6 separate regions of the Homo sapiens genome follow, and all the other regions are linked to region 6. Evidence: promoter capture Hi-C in 16 types of primary human blood cells and fetal thymus (Javierre and others, 2016). All regions are on one chromosome and are shown on one strand. Each heading gives the region's core, a stretch centred on a gene start or on the middle of the fragment in contact. The rest is flanking DNA. Distances are from core to core; before and after follow the strand shown. Region 1 overlaps CD58 (CD58 molecule). Region 2 overlaps GDAP2 (ganglioside induced differentiation associated protein 2). Region 3 overlaps GDAP2 (ganglioside induced differentiation associated protein 2). Region 4 overlaps IGSF3 (immunoglobulin superfamily member 3). Region 5 overlaps WDR3 (WD repeat domain 3). Region 6 holds the start of TRIM45 (tripartite motif containing 45).

The links. The method cuts DNA at HindIII sites, captures the fragments that hold promoters and counts their contacts. A CHiCAGO score of 5 or more calls a contact.
Region 1: a fragment that was not itself captured here is called in contact with the fragment with the promoter of TRIM45 in region 6 in 4 of 17 cell types (total CD4 T cells, fetal thymus, naive CD4 T cells and 1 more); the score reaches 8.5 in total CD4 T cells.
Region 2: a contact is called between a fragment that was not itself captured here and the fragment with the promoter of TRIM45 in region 6, in 2 of 17 cell types (naive B cells and total B cells). The highest score is 8.4, in naive B cells.
Region 3: a contact is called between a fragment that was not itself captured here and the fragment with the promoter of TRIM45 in region 6, in 1 of 17 cell types (total B cells). The highest score is 6.4, in total B cells.
Region 4: a fragment that was not itself captured here is called in contact with the fragment with the promoter of TRIM45 in region 6 in 7 of 17 cell types (activated CD4 T cells, naive CD8 T cells, naive CD4 T cells and 4 more); the score reaches 10.7 in activated CD4 T cells.
Region 5: a contact is called between a fragment that was not itself captured here and the fragment with the promoter of TRIM45 in region 6, in 1 of 17 cell types (total B cells). The highest score is 7.0, in total B cells.

Annotation. Positions count from the first base shown.
Region 1 is chr1:116,559,939-116,562,797 of GRCh38, forward strand. The region is part of intron 1 of CD58 (CD58 molecule); the gene reads right to left. It overlaps LOC105378925 (a long non-coding RNA gene), which reads left to right. Exons shown (of 3, transcript XR_947739.2): 3 at 1-1,249. MIR548AC (microRNA 548ac) reads right to left here and starts at 173; the gene lies at 86-173. RefSeq lists an enhancer at 2,580-2,729. The HindIII fragment of the contact is 813 bases long and covers 1,062-1,874 here.
Region 2 is chr1:117,890,974-117,893,755 of GRCh38, forward strand. The region is part of intron 8 of GDAP2 (ganglioside induced differentiation associated protein 2); the gene reads right to left. Among named protein-coding and RNA genes, the nearest start is that of GDAP2, 37 kb to the right of the region's middle. The HindIII fragment of the contact is 1,403 bases long and covers 728-2,130 here.
Region 3 is chr1:117,912,946-117,915,803 of GRCh38, forward strand. The region is part of intron 3 of GDAP2 (ganglioside induced differentiation associated protein 2); the gene reads right to left. Among named protein-coding and RNA genes, the nearest start is that of GDAP2, 15 kb to the right of the region's middle. The HindIII fragment of the contact is 801 bases long and covers 921-1,721 here.
Region 4 is chr1:116,580,079-116,582,778 of GRCh38, forward strand. The region is part of intron 9 of IGSF3 (immunoglobulin superfamily member 3); the gene reads right to left. Among named protein-coding and RNA genes, the nearest start is that of CD58, 10 kb to the left of the region's middle. The HindIII fragment of the contact is 6,350 bases long and covers 1-2,700 here.
Region 5 is chr1:117,932,651-117,935,596 of GRCh38, forward strand. It overlaps WDR3 (WD repeat domain 3), which reads left to right. Exons shown (of 27, transcript NM_006784.3): 2 at 638-840; 3 at 1,823-2,032. The coding sequence starts at 670. Among named protein-coding and RNA genes, the nearest start is that of WDR3, 4.4 kb to the left of the region's middle. The HindIII fragment of the contact is 2,966 bases long and covers 14-2,946 here.
Region 6 is chr1:117,120,302-117,123,001 of GRCh38, forward strand. It overlaps TRIM45 (tripartite motif containing 45), which reads right to left and starts at 1,448. Exons shown (of 6, transcript NM_025188.4): 1 at 413-1,448. The coding sequence starts at 900. RefSeq lists a silencer at 1,213-1,402 and an enhancer at 1,713-1,882. The HindIII fragment of the contact is 3,223 bases long and covers 1-2,693 here.

The DNA.
Region 1 (2,859 bases), core at 218-2,717, 560 kb before region 6:
TGAGTATCAAATACACACCAGAATCTGAAGACCTGGTATTAAAAAGTGGAACATAAAATCTCTTGTTAATATTTTTTTGTAGTAACTACTAGGTTAGTGCAAAAGTAATTGCCGGTTTTTGCCATTAAAAAAAAATAGCAAAAACCACAATAACTTTTGCACCAACCTAATACATGTCGAAATGAAAATATTATGGATATATTAGGTTAACTAAAATATATTATTAAAATTAATTTCACATGTTCCATATTATACTTCTATTTGAGAGCACTTCTTTAGCCTGTTGTTTCAAGACACTCACATCCCACCTTTCTCAAAGGCCACATTTGTCTTTGACTGTTCTCACCTTAGATAGGATACAGCTGAGATCCACAGTATGCTTTAGGGAATAAGGTTCTTACTAGATCGGTTAAGGCTGTGAGTGTTTTTAAATCTATTCTCCAAAGTCTGATTCAAGGTATTTCAATACAGTACTGATCATTTCACTAAAATTCCTTGAGAATCCTTGTTATTTTCTAGATACTCAGTTCATCGTTGGGAAACTCTATTGCAAGTAGTTTACAATGGCACAGCCTCATTAGTTTCTTATTAATCTGATTTTTTATTTTTTTCTGAATGTGTATGTTAAACTTCAATTTTCTTCTAATTTTTAACTGGCATAGGAAGAAAATGTTCAAGAAACTACAGACTGGTCAGCCCAGTGGAAATTCAGGCACTAATCTCAACAGACATTTTGGGGAACATTGTAAAGTAAGCAAAGTTCACTAGAACCTATAAAGTAACCAAAAAGCATTTTCCTTGGAGGCTGATGGGCAGGCACTGAAAGTTATCTCCAAAGAGGAACTGCTAAAATGTTTTCCCCTCCTTTTCTAGGGACAGTCTCTGTATCTTATAGTCACACTTTATATTCAAACCTGAACTTATCTGAGAAAAGAGAAACGGCTGCATCCTGGTTTCACTTACAACCCTGAGATGGAAGTTGAGATTTGTCATTGCAGAATTTAAGGGTCTGTGTCCTTAAGTAAAACCTTCTGGTCACCCCTCAAGTAAAGCTTCAAAAAAGCTTAGGCACTTGTGCAGAAACAGCATGAGAAGAAACCAAAAGGCAGAAAACTTACACATATAAGGGCTGATTTATGCAAAGTTTCTACTTTTAAACAGAGAAACCAATACCTACCCTCAAAGCCTGTATTTACTAAAGAAATGTTAGAGTGACAAGGAGGTCAATAAAATAAATTATTCAAATCTGGTTCTTAAAAAGAGGTTCTAAGACTATTTTAAAACTTCTGAAAGATGCCCATCAAAATTAAAACAAAAAAACATAGCAACGAATACAATGAGTGAAACTTGATTAGATCCGGGTTTTTTAACAAAAGACACTCTTGTGACAAGTGGGGAAATCTGAATACGGGTAAAAGTTAGGTGATGTTACAGGATTAGTGTTAATATTTATAGATGTTATGATGTTATTGAGATTATGCAAAAGTGTCTAGGAGTGAAATGTGGGTACCTAGAGAATGTAAATATAATAATGTTAATAATAAATATGTCAATAAATTGCCATTGTAAATTCTATGTCCCAAAGAAGCACCCCTCACCATTACAAATTATGATATTAAATACAATTTTGCATGACTGGTAATTGTGCTGACCTATATTTCCCATGTTTTAGCAGAATTTCATTGGACAATGTATACATGTTGGATATAAGAAATCAGTAGTACTCATCTTCAAAAAGTTGCTTAGTGGATCTCAGGCTAGGGATACAACAGAGCATATAAAGGAATAGGTTCTGATTCAGAGAGAATCAAAGTTCAAGTTCACTCTGCCACTTATTTGCTGTGTGAACTTGGACACATTACTGAACCTACCTAAGCTTTGTTCTCCTATTAAATGTTCCCTATGTAATAAAATCAGTGTGACAATTAAATAAAAACATCTCAAATCTGAAGCATAGCTCCTGGCACAGAGCAGGTACTTACCTCCTAGTGGCTATTATTACTTACACTCTGTTATAACACTGGGCCTAGTTTTCCTATAGGAACACACAACACTATTTTAACTTGGATTATCTTTGCTAAATAAAAAAACACAGACTGTCTAAGTCTCAACTCCAGCAAAGCACATGAACAAGTCTCACATAATAATGTGAGATAATTTCAAATGGAGAAATGCTGGACAAATACATTGTCATCTAATGTTCAGATTCAACAATCTTTACTATTAAAAAAAAACAGATCAATATAAGGAAAATTTTAAAAAATAATACATGACTTCTGCATACAAGGAACTTAAAATCTAGTTATGCAGATAGTTGGCAATAAAGGATCTGTAAAATGTCAACAACAGCAGAATAAGACAGACTCTGTTAATAATAAAATAGTTCCTACCTTTTTATTTTTTATTTTTTTGCTCTGTTACCCAGGCTGGAATGCAGTTGTGTCATCATGGCTCACTGCAGCCTCAAATTCCCAGACTCAAGCAATTGCCAGGCTCATCTCAGCCTCCTGAGTAGCTGGGACTACAGGCGTGCACCACCACACCTGGCTAACTTTTTGTAGAGATGGGGTGTATTAGTCCATTCTCGCACTGCTAATAATGACATACATGAGACTGGGTAATTTATCAAGGAAAGAGGCTCAATGGACTCACAGTTCCACATGGCCAGGGAAACCTCACAATCATGGCAGAAGGCAAAGGAGAAGCAAAGTCATGTCTTAATGGTGGCAGGCAAGAGAGAGCGTGTGCAGGGGAACTCCCCTTTATGAAACCATCAGATCTTGTGAGACTTATTCACTATCACAAGAACAGTATAGAGGAAACTGCCCTCATGATTCAATTATCTCCACCTGGCCCTGC
Region 2 (2,782 bases), core at 179-2,678, 770 kb after region 6:
CAATTAAAACAAAAATGCTCACTGGAACATTTCGGATTTTTGGGATTTGGGATGTTCAACTGGTAAGTACGATACAAATATTTCAAAATCCAAACAAATCAGAAATCTGAAACACTTCTGGTCCCAAGAATTTTGGATATGGCATACTTAATCTGTATATATCATGTATTCATACTAGATAAAAACTATAGATTTTTTTCATTCACTCTCTCACTGATGGGCACTTGGGCTGTTTCCAGGGTTTTGCTATTGTGAAGAGGGCTACAATCAACTTGTTTTGCGTGTCTCCTGGTATACATGTGCATGATTGCTCTTGAGTAGGTACCAATGAGTGAAAGTGCTAGGTTACAGGGAATGTTTAATTTTAGGAGATAAGGACAAACCTCTTTTCCAAAGCATTGCACCAAATTATACTTCTATAAGAAGCATATGAGACTGTGAATCCCTGTCCTCACCAACACTTGCTACTATTAGATGTTTTAGTGTTTGCCAGTTGGATAGGTTAGAAATGGTAAAGCATTTCTCTGGTCAGTAATGAGGTTGAGATTCTGCTCATGTTGACTTGATTCTATGAGATGCCTGTTCCTATCATTTTTCCATTTTTTATTGGGTTATTTGATTGTTTCTCACCAAGTTGTAGTTCTTTACACATTCTTGATGCTGATCATTTGTTGTGTGTTTTGTGAATATCTGCCCCCATTCCGTAACTTGCTTTTTACTTTGTTTAAGCTTGGCTCTACTTTCAAAAGTTCTTAATTTTAATATAGTCAAAACTATTTTTTCTTTGGTGGTAAATGCTTTTCATGTCTTTAAAAAAATCTTCCCTTTCTCTAAGGTTTGAAGGATACTAGCTTAACTTCTTCCACAGGTTTCAGAATTTTTAAAAATTTAAGTCCTTAATCTATCTAAAGTTGATTTGTCCATAGTGTGAACACAGAATTAGTATAAACTCTAAAATGTTTAAACCTTGATTGATGATTAACAACTTGAGATCTAAAGATAGACTTTGGTTGACAAAATCTCTATGAACATATTTGTGGGGAGAAGTTTATAGTTTACATCAGATTCTTAAAGGGTTCATGATTTTTAAAAGGTTAGAATCACTGCTGAGACACTGGTCCTGTTCTGGTTTCTAAGGACCATGCAACAACTCATGATTGCAATCTTCATCAGGTTTCTTCTTTATTCTAATTAAGTCTCTGCCATTACCACTATAGATTGTGTAAGTCTGATTATTTAGTCATTATTTTAAAAAAATCACCAGTTGGGAAGAAAGAGTAAAAGCAAAAAGACTGTTACTCTTCTCACTCAATAGACAATACCCTCCTTTTTTTCTAAACTTCATTATTCAAAGAATATTTCATGTTTTCTATTACATTTCTTATAAACAGCACCTCACTTTTTGCTATAGTGTTTTGTTTTGTTTAAAGGAAGACATGCAATCTTTTGTTCCAATCCAAAAATCAAAACAAAGCTAAAAGGAAAATATGAACTCAAAATAGTTTCTGGGTTTCCTACAGGATATTTCCTAAATATCCTATATAGAGTACTTTCTTATTCCAAATAAACAAACTTCTATTATTTTATGAGTAAATATAATAATCATGGATAAATAATCGTACAAAATATGTCAAAATGGCAGAAAAAAATAGCCACTACAGTGCTCTAAATGCAGAAACACTAATTAGTTTCTCAATGGGTTGCAACCAACTGAGGTTGGACACTGTTCTCACAAAGCTAATATAAGCCAGTTTCTTCCAGTTAATAAATTACCATCCACCTGTACAGCCAGCAGCTGAATGACAAAAAAAATTTAAACTGTATCACTCTTAAAAGACTAATAACTAACCCATCTGTGTATAATCATCGCCCAGGGAAAATTCTGTCTTTGGAATTAGCAGATGCTTTCCCAGACCTTATACAATTGACCCATCCTAGATTTAGTTAAGATCTTTGTTGTATCCTCTTATTGACCCTGTACAGTAATTTAAACAATTATTCATATACTAATTAGTTTAACATTTTTCTCCTCTGCAAGACCCTAAGCTCCATGCAGGCGGGTGCTGTATCTGTCTTGCTTGTCACTTTATTACCAGTAGTATCCAGCACAACATTTGGCACATTAGTAAAAGCTTAATAAGTATTTAATAATGAAAAAGATAATGATTTTGTTGAGAAAAATGACATAAGAGTCACAGGCAATTGAATCTTAAGCCAGTCAAGTAATACTAATAAAAAAGGAAAGGAAATCTTCCTGTAAAATAACTTGAAGAGTTTCAAAAGCAGTATTTTTGAAAAAGAGTATCTAGGTTGCTTCCTAATTTTGGTAAGTAAACCAATGTCTACCTTATGATACACCCAAATCAGAATCACAACTGGATGACAGACCTGGATTAGAAAGCACGTCTAATTTTTCATGTTAAAAACAATTATTTTGAAGAGATACTGAGGTGACAAGGCAGTGCTACGAAAGGAGTGACATAAAACTATTGCCAATCCATGTGACCTTTAGTTTCGCTACTGATGGAAGAATTGAAGGCTTTTGAAAAGATATTTACTAACTAAAAACCTACTTACTTTTACATTTGTTCAACCTAATTAATTAACATAATCAACAGAAGCCAGACTCAATATGTGAAAATAAAAGCCCGATTTAGAAATATCAAGAGAAAGAAATTTTAAAAACTACAACCTACAATCTCAAATACGGCTGAGCATGCAAACAGTTGACATAGCTTAGTTATATCATAAACTCCTCAATAAACAGCCATCAATTCTAAAA
Region 3 (2,858 bases), core at 71-2,570, 790 kb after region 6:
ATGTCAACTGACTAGTAACTGACTCAACAGAGCAGACAAACCTAATTGCTTGCAGAAATGAGATAACTAATACGAAGCAAGTTGATCTGTACTGAAAAGCAGTGTTGGATACAAGACAGACTGCTTTGATTCAAATCCTGAGTTCCTGTCAAGACACTCTGGGCAGGGGCTTAGCCTTGTTACAACCCAATTTCCTATTTAAGAGGGATACTAGTAGTACTTACTTCACAGGATTAAACGAGTTACTATATGCAAAGTGCATACATGCATAAGAAATTATTGTTATTATTACTAGAGAATGCTAAAAAGGCTCAGAAATTGGAGCCCTAAGTACTTGTAAAGGCTATGCTGTCAAGTGGGATGTGGTGCTAAAAAGAGGAGGTCCAGTTAAAAGTTTGTATAAAAACAGTCAAATCTGCAACAACCCCTCCCCCAGCCAGCACAGTAAGGTGATGATTTTTTTTTTTTTTTTACCACCAGAGCAGCAGGGAAGAAGTTTATTCTCTGGAGATGCTCAACTAGAGAGTTTCTGGATTCCAGAACCCCAGGCACAGCTGAAAAGAGGGGATTTAGTTAAAGTGTTATACTTAACAGTGAAAGGTCTAGCCCTCTGCCCCTAAATGGCTTTCAAAACAGACATCTAGGCTTACACTCCTGGAGGATTCCTTTCCAAGAAATTGAGAGGCCCAAACCTAAAGGACCTACAGATAACTGGGGAAGTTCCCCAATAAAATAACAGGCAGGAGTCCCATTCTGTCATATGCTTCAAGACCCACCAGGCAATAACCGTTGCCCACTGTTATGAACTGAATGCTTCGGTTCCCTCAAAATTCATATGTTAAACCCTACCCCCTAATGTGATGGTATTAGGAGGTAGGGTCTTTGGGGGTAATTAGAATTAGATAAGCTCATGAGGGTAAAGCTTTCATGAATGAGATCTGAATCCTTGTAAGAGTCTCCAGAGAGTCTGCTCCCTCTCTCTGCCACGTGAAAATACAATGAAAACTCAGCAGTCTGCAGCCAGGAAGACAGCCCTTAGCAGAACTTGACTATGCTGGCACCCTGATCTTGGATTTCAGTCTCCAGAAATTTCTGTTCTTCCTAAGCCATTCAGCCTAGGATACTTTGTTATAGCAGCCTGAAATGACTTAGACACCCATGTGTACAAAGTTTCCCATGAACTTTTCAGTTCTTCCATCTTAAATCCAGCTAACACTTAAGGATCACCAGAAAGTGAGAAAAGCCTCTAACAAAAACTAAAAGGGGAGACTAAACACATGCTCAAGAAATAGACAACACAGGGGAAAAAAAACTTAAAATCAGAATGTCATAAAAACAAACTATTCAGAGAACAGGAAATGGCACTTATGTAACTGCTATAGCCAAGTGAAAAATATGACAGCAGAAATGAAAAGTTCAATAGAAGGGTTAAAACTAAACTTGAAGGAATCCAGAAAATAAAACAAAAATAAATTGAAAATAAGAGATAACAGATGAGAAAACTGAAGAATTAAACAAGAAAATACAACATCTAATAGGATTTCTTCAGAGAGAACAGAGAATACAGAAGGAAGGAAATTATTAATGAAATAAAACAAAAAAATTTCCCAGGATGGAAAGACATCAGTTTCTAGATTCAAAGAGCCCATAAAACACCCAAACCATATGAAGGCAAATCCCTGTAAAATTTAAGAGCACTAAGAAACAAAGATGAGATCAGAAGCTTTCCAGAAAGAAACCAGTAACATACAAACAATCAGGGATAAGAATAGCACAAGACTTCTCAACAGCACTAATCAAAGTAGAAAACAAAGGAGTAGTGCCTTCAAATTTCTAGAAAATGATTTCCAAACTAGAATTCTATTTCTAAGCAAATTACCAATTAAGTACGAAGGTGGAAGTAAAATCTCAGTAGTTTTACCCTATTGCATTCTTCTTTAAAATCTCCTGGTAGATTTACTCACAAAAATGAGAGATCCAATCCACCAAACAGAAAAAAGGATTTCCCAGGATGATGTTAAAAAAAAAAGTTCCAGAACAGTAACTGTGCAGCAGGCACAGAGAACAGTCTAGAGAGGAAAGGGAGGATGGAGGGTTCCAGGAGGGACCTTGGCAAGAAAAAAATGGAATGTAAGGGTCAAACTGTTATCTTCACTCCAATTAAGAGAGCCATCTTAATATGAGTAACAGTCCACTAACAGGTCTAACATGATACAACATTAAGCAGACAACACAACATCACCTATGAAATATTTTAGGCAAAACTTGACTCCATTAGACATAATGTCAAGTTTATAGGAAATACAAACTAAATGGCACCTCAAGTAAATCAGACAAATCTAGAAGGAGGAATACTGTGAAAAATAAGTGGCCTTGTTCAGTCAACAAGTCAGTGTCATAGACAGGGGACTGTGCTGGATTACAAAATACCACACACACAGAGACAAATTAATAAACATAACAAAAAGATGCAATGTCTGGTCCTGGATTGGATACTGGTTTGGATAAAATAGCTGCTGCAAAGGACATTTTTGGATCAGCTGGAAATTTTAAATATGGTCTGGGTAGTAGATGTAATTTCAGAAATTAAAAGGTGGAATTCATTTGCTGAAGAAGGCAAATTGCAGAATATGTACATGATTACCTTATTTTGAGAGTAGCATACACATAATTATTTTGGTATCAAAAGATATAAGAATGTATGTATACATCCACACCCACATACAGGTTCATACAACAAACAAACCTCACATAGGTTTAGTTTCATAAAATTTCTAAATTCACAAAGTGAATATAAGACTGATTTTTTTCAGGGAGGAAATTTAGGTACAATAAGCCAACCCTGCCTATTCTAATTT
Region 4 (2,700 bases), core at 119-2,618, 540 kb before region 6:
ATGTCATTGTATGCAGAAAACATATTTTATTTTGACATACATATCTGTTTATATCTGCATAAAATATCTGTGGAAGAATTCATAAGAAGCTGGTAGTGTGGTTCCTTATGGGAATCCCGGGGGGAAGAGGTGTTTATTTTCACTGTAACCCCTTGTAGTGGCTGAATAGTGTCCCTCCAAAATGCATGTCCACCTGGAACCTCAGAATGTGATTATTTGGAAATAGCAACTTTGCAGACGTAATTAGCAAAGAGGAGGTCTTGCTGGATTGGGGTGGGCCCTAAATCCAGTGGCTGGTGCTATGAACTGAATTGGTCCCCCTCCAAATTAATATGCTGAATTCATAACCCACGATGTGACTACATTTGGAGGTAGGACTTTTAGGAGGTAATTAAAGTTAAATGAGGTCATAAGGCTGAGTGAGACCCTAATCCAGTAAGATTGGTGTCTTATAAGAAGAAGAAGAGAGATCTCTCTCCAGGTGCATGCACCGAGGAAAGACTATTCAAGGACACAGCAAGAAGGCGCCGTCTGCGGGCCAGAAGAGCTCTTACCAGAACTTAGCCATGCTGGTGCCCTGACCTCAGACTTCCAGCCTCTAGGACTGTAGGAAAATACATTTATGTTGTTTAAGCCACCCAGTCTATAGTATTTTGTTATGGCAACTGAGCAGACTAAGATAACTAGTGTCCTTATGAGCACAGGAGAGAAGACAGAGAGAAAGTGGCCATATGATGATGGAGGCCCAAACAGGAGTGAAGCAGCCACAACCAGGGAATGTCTGTGGCCACAAGGAACTGGCAAAGGCCAGGAAGCATTCTTCCCTAGAGCCTTCATGGGGAGCATGGCTATGATGACATCCTGACTTTGGACTTCTGGCCTGCAGAACTGTAAGAGAATAAATTTCTTTTGTTTTAAACAATCAAGTTTATACTAATTTGTTATGGTAGCCCTGGGAATTTAAAACACCCATGCAGTAACTTAAATTTAAACTGTGTGCATGTAGCTTATTGCCTAAAACACAGAGAACCCAAGGAGATCAGTATCTCTCCAAGGATTAAAGCCAGATAACAGACGACAAGGCTGAAAGGGCCCTTCCCTGTGAGCACAGATGTCTCAGGAGGATGTACGCAAAGTGTCCTCCCTGCTTAGGCGGGAGACACAGAGTAACCACAGAGAGGGACCCCAAGCAGGTGAGTCACATCTCACAGATGCCAACAGACTTGAATCTGTTTTGCTGTCTTTTTTTTTTTTTTTTTTTTTTTTTGGCTCACTGTAATATGTTCTAAACAAATAATTCACTCCCTAACTCCTAAAAGGCCTCCCTTTGGCTCTGCTTATGAAATGTTCATGAAAGGTGCCAATGTAATGTAAACTGAAGTAGAGATACCAAATCAGATCCTACTTGGATGAAGACCAAATAGGAGCACTTTCCAAGTATTGTCCTGGGCTTTCAATGAATTGGCTTAGTGTCGCTCACAGGTGAACATGTCGCTCACAGGTTAACACAAGGCTGGGCTTCCCATTGCTCTTGTGGGGGCTCTGCCAAGCCCCTCTGCACCCACCTCCTGCACCCATCTGGAATCTCAGTGTGCACTGCTGGCACAGGAGGGCTCAGTAACCAGCTACAGGTGGCAGGCCCAGCTCTCTCAGGGACAAGAACATGCTTGAGAACAGAATATGGCCGGGTGGGGACTATTCAATCAGTTCACAGGTAACTCAAACTCACTCAACTCCTCAGTTGTAACTCCAAGGCCATTAGAGAGCCCTACTAGAGACCAAGGGGAGCCCCCCACCCCATGCTTTTCTCCTCCAGAGTCTAACATAGTATCCCCACGCTCCTGGTGACTGGCTAAGGTGTCAAGGGAGGTGGCCCTGGGCGATGTGCAGTGGAACTTATCATGGCCAGGGGCAAGATGGCCAGAGACCATCAGTTGAGCTCCTCAGAAACACCTCCTCCCTCTTCAATCTCCCTTTGCTTTCTTGTCTTCTAACCGCTTAACATTTTTCTTGGCCCCTTCAAATGCCTTGTCTGCATAAATGACTCAATACAAGTTTTTCGACAGAAATTAATTTCCACCTTCCCACAATCTCTCTCCCCTTAACATGTTTCTCTACCAATTTAGTTCCCTGAATCTGCCCCCTTCTAGAATATGCCAACCCTCCTCCCTGTTTGGACTTAAATACTCTCTTCTTTTCCAAGTATAAGCCATGGAAAGATGCCGACCTCTGCCCCTGCTGTCTGCGTGACACTAACAGCTCCCCTGGATCTCACTGTGACCGCCAATTCCTGGCCTGTGTGTGATGATTGTGGTTTTCTCCCTTCCCCAGTTGTGTGAGCCCAACACAACTACTAATCGACTCATCTGCAATCTTAGTGAGGATGGGAGCCCTTCATTCCATGTATTTCAGATTATTGTGAATGTCAACTCTCAGCAGTGGAAGGTGATTATTTTCCTAACAATACTTTTAGAGCTATATTATTTCAAGTCTTCCATGTGTTTAACGTATCCCTCCGAAAAAAATCTTTGAAGTACGTCTGCACAATGAATGTTATGAAACCAGTAAAAATGGTGGCTATGAAATGCTTTCACAGACATGGGAAAACGCTCATAAAAGAAAGTTGAGTGGGAAAAAAGATCACATAAAACAGTAAGATCCTGAGTTTGTTTACAGACAGAGGAAATATGAAGACATGAG
Region 5 (2,946 bases), core at 247-2,746, 810 kb after region 6:
ATCTCTGTGTAAAAGCTTTGATGCTGGTTTAATGGGCAGAAGTAAATCAGTTTAGCTGCATTGAGCCTATAATGTCAGATATGCATGAGGTGGGCATGACAACGTGACTAATTTGGAACTTGAGGAATGAGGGATTATATTGAGTCAACACTGAATAAAAAATGATGTCCAGGTATTTTAGGTCAATGATTCATTTAGAGTAAATAAAGATTAAGAAGTCACAAGTTACATGCTTTTAATGACATGATCAACAGTTGGTGTTGTTCTGGCGCAGTGGCTAACACCTGTAATCCCAGCACTTTGGGAGGCCGTGGCGGATGGATCACTTGAGGTGAGGCTTTCGAGACGAGCCTGGCCAATATGGTGAAACCCCATCTCTACTAAAAAAAAAAAAAAAAAAAAAATTAGCCGGGTATGGTGGCACATGCCTGTAGTCCCAGCTACTCGGGAGGCTGAGGCAGGAGAATCGCTTGAACCTAGGAGGTGGAGTCAGCTGTGAGCCAGGATCCCACCACTGCACTCCAGCCTGGGCAACAGAGTGAGACTCTGTCTCAAAAACAAAAAAACAGTTGGTGTTTACTAACCTAGTAGAACCAAGGCACCCAAGGAGCTGAGTTTTCTTTGTTTATATGCACAGATTGCTTCACCTGTGGTATCAGACATCACAACATGGGGCTCACCAAGCAGTACCTACGCTATGTTGCTAGTGCGGTCTTTGGCGTTATCGGCAGCCAAAAAGGTAATATTGTCTTTGTGACACTTCGTGGTGAGAAAGGACGTTATGTGGCAGTACCAGCTTGTGAACACGTTTTCATCTGGGACTTAAGGAAAGGAGAGAAGGTGAGCCTAAAATGACCAGTTTGATACTGATTTATTGGTATTTGAGGATGGAGAGGTAGTAGAAGTGGGGGGGCTCTGATTTATTTATCATGAGTTTTTTTGTGTCTGTGCCCTTAGAAGAAAAATCTTTTTCCTTTAGGTCTAGCTAGCCAAGCATCAAGTTCCTTTGTGTTCTTCGCCACTGAATTCTGAAAACCACAATGAAATAGGAGCTTATTTCTTAGATGTCTATTTGTTGGAATATTTACAGGTCATTATTTGCAGTAATTATTTATTCCTGATGTATTTTTTCTCTACCAATTCTATTTTTCAAGCTCGACTTATGCTTATAGCTGGTTATAAAATATTAGGCATGTAAAAGGAAGGTTAGTCTATTTTGGCAGAATCTTTTTCTAATATGGATAATGCCCAAGTGTTGTTAAAGTAGACTTTGATACTTTGTGTGACTGAATTCCCTAAGCCTACCACTTTTGCCAAACCAAATATAGGCATTTTGATATTGTCCATTCATTTTGTGATTCCCAAGAGGTTAGTACTTTGATTCTTGTTGCCACCAAGAGTCCTTTGTGGTTAAAACCACTGCAGTACTCTGTTGCCACACAGATTATTTTCTTATAAAATGGGTCTCAGTTAAAGGAATTTATAAACCTTTATTGAAAATCACGTAGTGTTGTTCTAGGGTTAAGAATTAGATTAAAGGGATTAAATTTATTTTATTGCCTAGGGAGTTTTTATATGTATTACAACAACGTAGGGCTTTGGAGAAAATAATTAAGCCTTTTCTTAAATGTTTCATTGCCTAGTACAAATACTAATTTCTATATTAAAAAACTTGAAATGGATTGTGGAGTTTCATTTTTATTCATAAGAGTAATTTGGAATTATTGGTGCTCTTAATTTTACTGTGCCTGAGTATTCCTATGCTTTTCCCTTGAGTTCATGCTTAACTCTTCTACATTGTTTTTAATTTTTATGATTTCAGATTCTTATCCTTCAGGGGCTTAAACAAGAAGTTACTTGCTTATGCCCCTCCCCAGATGGGCTACACTTAGCTGTTGGGTATGAGGATGGGTCGATCCGAATCTTCAGTCTCCTGAGTGGGGAAGGAAATGTGACCTTCAATGGTCACAAAGCAGCTATCACTACCTTGAAGTATGATCAGCTAGGAGGCAGACTGGCATCTGGGTCCAAGGTGAGCCTTTGAATCAGCCCAGGCTTTGATCTATTAAAGGAATGTAAGGCTTATGCTGAAGCAAGTTGTTGACAAAAATTGTCAGGTAAAACAATGGGCTGTCAATATACAAAGTAGTATAATGATAGAGTGAAGAGGATGGGTGTGAATTGGGTGGTTCATTTTGTTTCCTTTTGTTCATTTTGTCATATTTTCTGATAAAAGCCTCTTAAGTGTAGGAATAAGATGAAGAGAGCCATGATAACTCTTATTGTGGAAGTGCTACGCAAAACAGTAAAATAAGGAAAGAAAACAAAGACTGGAAAAGAAGAGACAAAATAATTATTTGCCATTGACTTCTGTAAAGTCAGTAGAATTTCCTGTATCTCACAAGTCATGAGTTAGAAAATATAAAAGATTCCATTCACAACAGATTAAGTAACAGACATAAAAATACCATGAAACTTTACTGAAGAATGGAATAGAAGACTTTTATAGAGATATAATCCATGTTCTTGAATGGGAAGACAAGGTATTGAAAAGATGGTAGTGTTTTCTAATTGATTTATATAGCTAAAGCTATGTTTAGACATATGTTTATATAGATACAGATATATTTAAATAGATATCTTAAAGGTTTTAGTTGTTACTTAGAACTTGACCTAATATGGAAAAGCAAAGGAATTGGAAACACTAAAATTTGGGAAGAAAAGAATAATAAAACAGGGGTTTTAGATATTAAAATGTCATATAAACCCATAATTTAAGAAGTATCATATTGATACTTCAATGCAAGTACCAATGCAAAATAGATTATTGCAACCAAATGGAAATCTCAGAAACACATCCATGATTACATTCCTAATTAGTATATTTTAAAGACGACATTTTAATAAGTAGAAAAATGATAGATTACTTATAAAACAGTCCTTAGA
Region 6 (2,700 bases), core at 198-2,697:
CTTGTTTCCCCAATTAATAAATGGGGGCGAAAACAGGGCCTGCTTTTCTGTAAGAGTTGCAAGATCGAAGGAGATCAAGAACAGGATCTATGCTGTTATATTCATTCTCCTGTTTCTCCAGCACCCAGTACAATTATTCACTACACGAATGACTGAAGGAAACTGTAGCTGCACTTTGTAAATTGAAAGGGTTTATTGCTATTGCTATATTAGGCTATATATTAGGTACTATATTAGGCTAACCGGGTTAACTGTTGTACTGGAGTATTTGCTATTGCATTGTTATATTGCTCTTTGACCTTCCACGGTATTTGAGAAGGCTTTCCTTTTCATCTGCTCACCGAGGGATTTGTCTTGACACCTCTTTGTAATCTGCTCTTAAGCTACACCTGATGGAGTGTCCCATCTTTACCTATGAGCCTGGCAGCAGAAGTGGCAGAGGTTGGCTTTGCAGGTCTGACACCTCTTCTCTACTTCCCTGTCGTTGCACAGGTCACACACCAGGCCCTGGCCTTCCCCACGTAGGCTCTCCAGCATCACATCATTCACGGCCAGGTGGTCTATGGTTAAAGCCTTCACTCCACCCATGGGCAGGTCCACCTGAGCATCACATACAGGACAAAGGATGCCGATCTGCGACTGCAGACTTCGTGGCTTGAGTTCCTGGAATATTGACCCCTCAGAGCTTGTGTCAGAGTCTCCCCCTCGGATGTCCACTACTGAGAAGGGCTCCAGCTGCTCCAGACACGTGGTGCAAACTGTATGCAAACAAGGCAAGAGCCTGGGGGCTTTGAAAAGCCCCAAGCACAGGGGGCAGTGAGTCTTGCCTGAGTTCCCAAGTGCAGTCCCACTAGTGAGTTTGCTTACAAAGCCCAGCAGCGGTTTTCTGTTTTCTGACATACTCCTCACGTTTGTGACCAATATTAGAAAGGGCCCTGGGCAGTTCTACGATTTAGTAGCAGGTGATTAAGCCCACCCAAAGAGAAAGTCTCCAGAACTTGAACAGAGACCATGGGGACTCCCTCGCTGACAAATAAAAGGGCAGACGGGAAGACGAGGCGTCCTCGAAGGAATCACCCACAGATCTACTCAGGAGGGCCCCCTCCTTTCCACTGCATCCCACACCAGACACGCCCACGCCCTCCTCTGCCCCGCAAGTCCTCCCCGGATGCGCTTCCAGGTCTAGCTCTCCAGCTAGTCCTGCTGCCAACAAAGTCACCCCTGCACCTCTCGCTCCCTCCACTGCCACCCCCCTCCCGCCGCCCGCCCCACTGCGCGCCACACGCGACAAGCGCCGACCCCACCCGCGCACGATGAGGTAGGGGCCCTCTTGCTCCTTCCCTCTGCGAAAGGCGCGCGCCGGGTGAGGGAATTGCAAGCCGCCGGCGGGCTTCTCGGTGTCCACCGCCTCTCCCGCGCCTCGGCCCGGGACGCCCGCGGGCTCTGGCCCCTCCTCACACCAATCCCAGCCCGGTCTACTCCGGCGAGTCCAATCACCGTCCGAGAGCGGCGGCCCTCGCCGCTCCGGGCCCCGCCGCCCTCCAGAGTGACGCCACTAAGCATCCAATAAGTTTTGGAAATTCCACATCTTCGCCAGTCCACTCACGCGGGGGGCGGGACCTGACAAGGCCGTGGGCGGGGCGGCCGAAGGGCTTAGAGTGCGGCGGGAGGAAAAGGCCAAGGCTCGGAGCGAGCGGCATAGTGTAGTCAGCGTCACCGTTTCACAGGGACTGTCCCTCTCTCTGTGGTGACCAGAGAGGCCTCAGGACCTCTTAAAAAGCCACGCTGATTTGGCGCCGGGACGGCCTTCTTTCTGCCCTCGGACTCGTCCCACGAACGCAGACTGGGTTCTCCCATTGGTGGATGGCACTGTCAGTTGGCTCTGCGCTGGGAGTGGGAGACGTTTTTCGGGCTCCCGAGGTCTCGGCCGCTCGGGGGCGCCAGACGTTTCTCCTCCACGCGGGTTTGAGGCTGCGAGGCTCCCCTCTGTCCTCAGGCGCTTACTGTAGCTCACAGGTCCCTCAGGCCTAGCGTGCTGGGTACAAGCACTCCCGCGGCTCCCCGACTTTGGGTATTTTTCGGGGGTGAGGGCATCTCAGGCTCGCGTTACGGGGACCGGTTCGGGAGACCGTGGAGCCGAGGTGTCGAATGGAGGGCTTACTTCGGCCGGGCCAGGGAGCGCCACCCTCCTTGTCGGGCTCGGGAAGGCTTTGTTTTCCGGTCCGGGGGGAGTGCAGATGACCTAAGGAGTTGAATGTCACCCGGGATTCCACAGTCCTGTGTAACAGAAACGAGCTGAGCGAGTTGGACCCGCTGTTTTTATCAGTCAATCACGGAGGGCTCCTGCCTGGTCACAGTGAGACAATGGACGGTGGCAATGAGGGACAAGCCCTTTGTGGGCTTAAAACTAATTGGGAAGATGAACACGTCCGACCCCTTTAACTTTATAATTACACGGCCACCTTCTCTGGCCTTACCAGGCGTCTCCTGATTCTCCAAAATTCCAAAAATGGAAACAGCTGCTCCTTTCCCCTCCACCTGTTGTTATCTCCAGTTGCGTCAGCTTGTCTACTGGGCCCTCACTGCTTTCTTTGTTCATGACCTTCCCTACTTAATTTGTACCCAGTGGGCGACTGTTTCACTTGATTCCTTCATTATCTGTTTCATGCTATAGGCATAGTGTCTGGAGCCTAAGCTTTT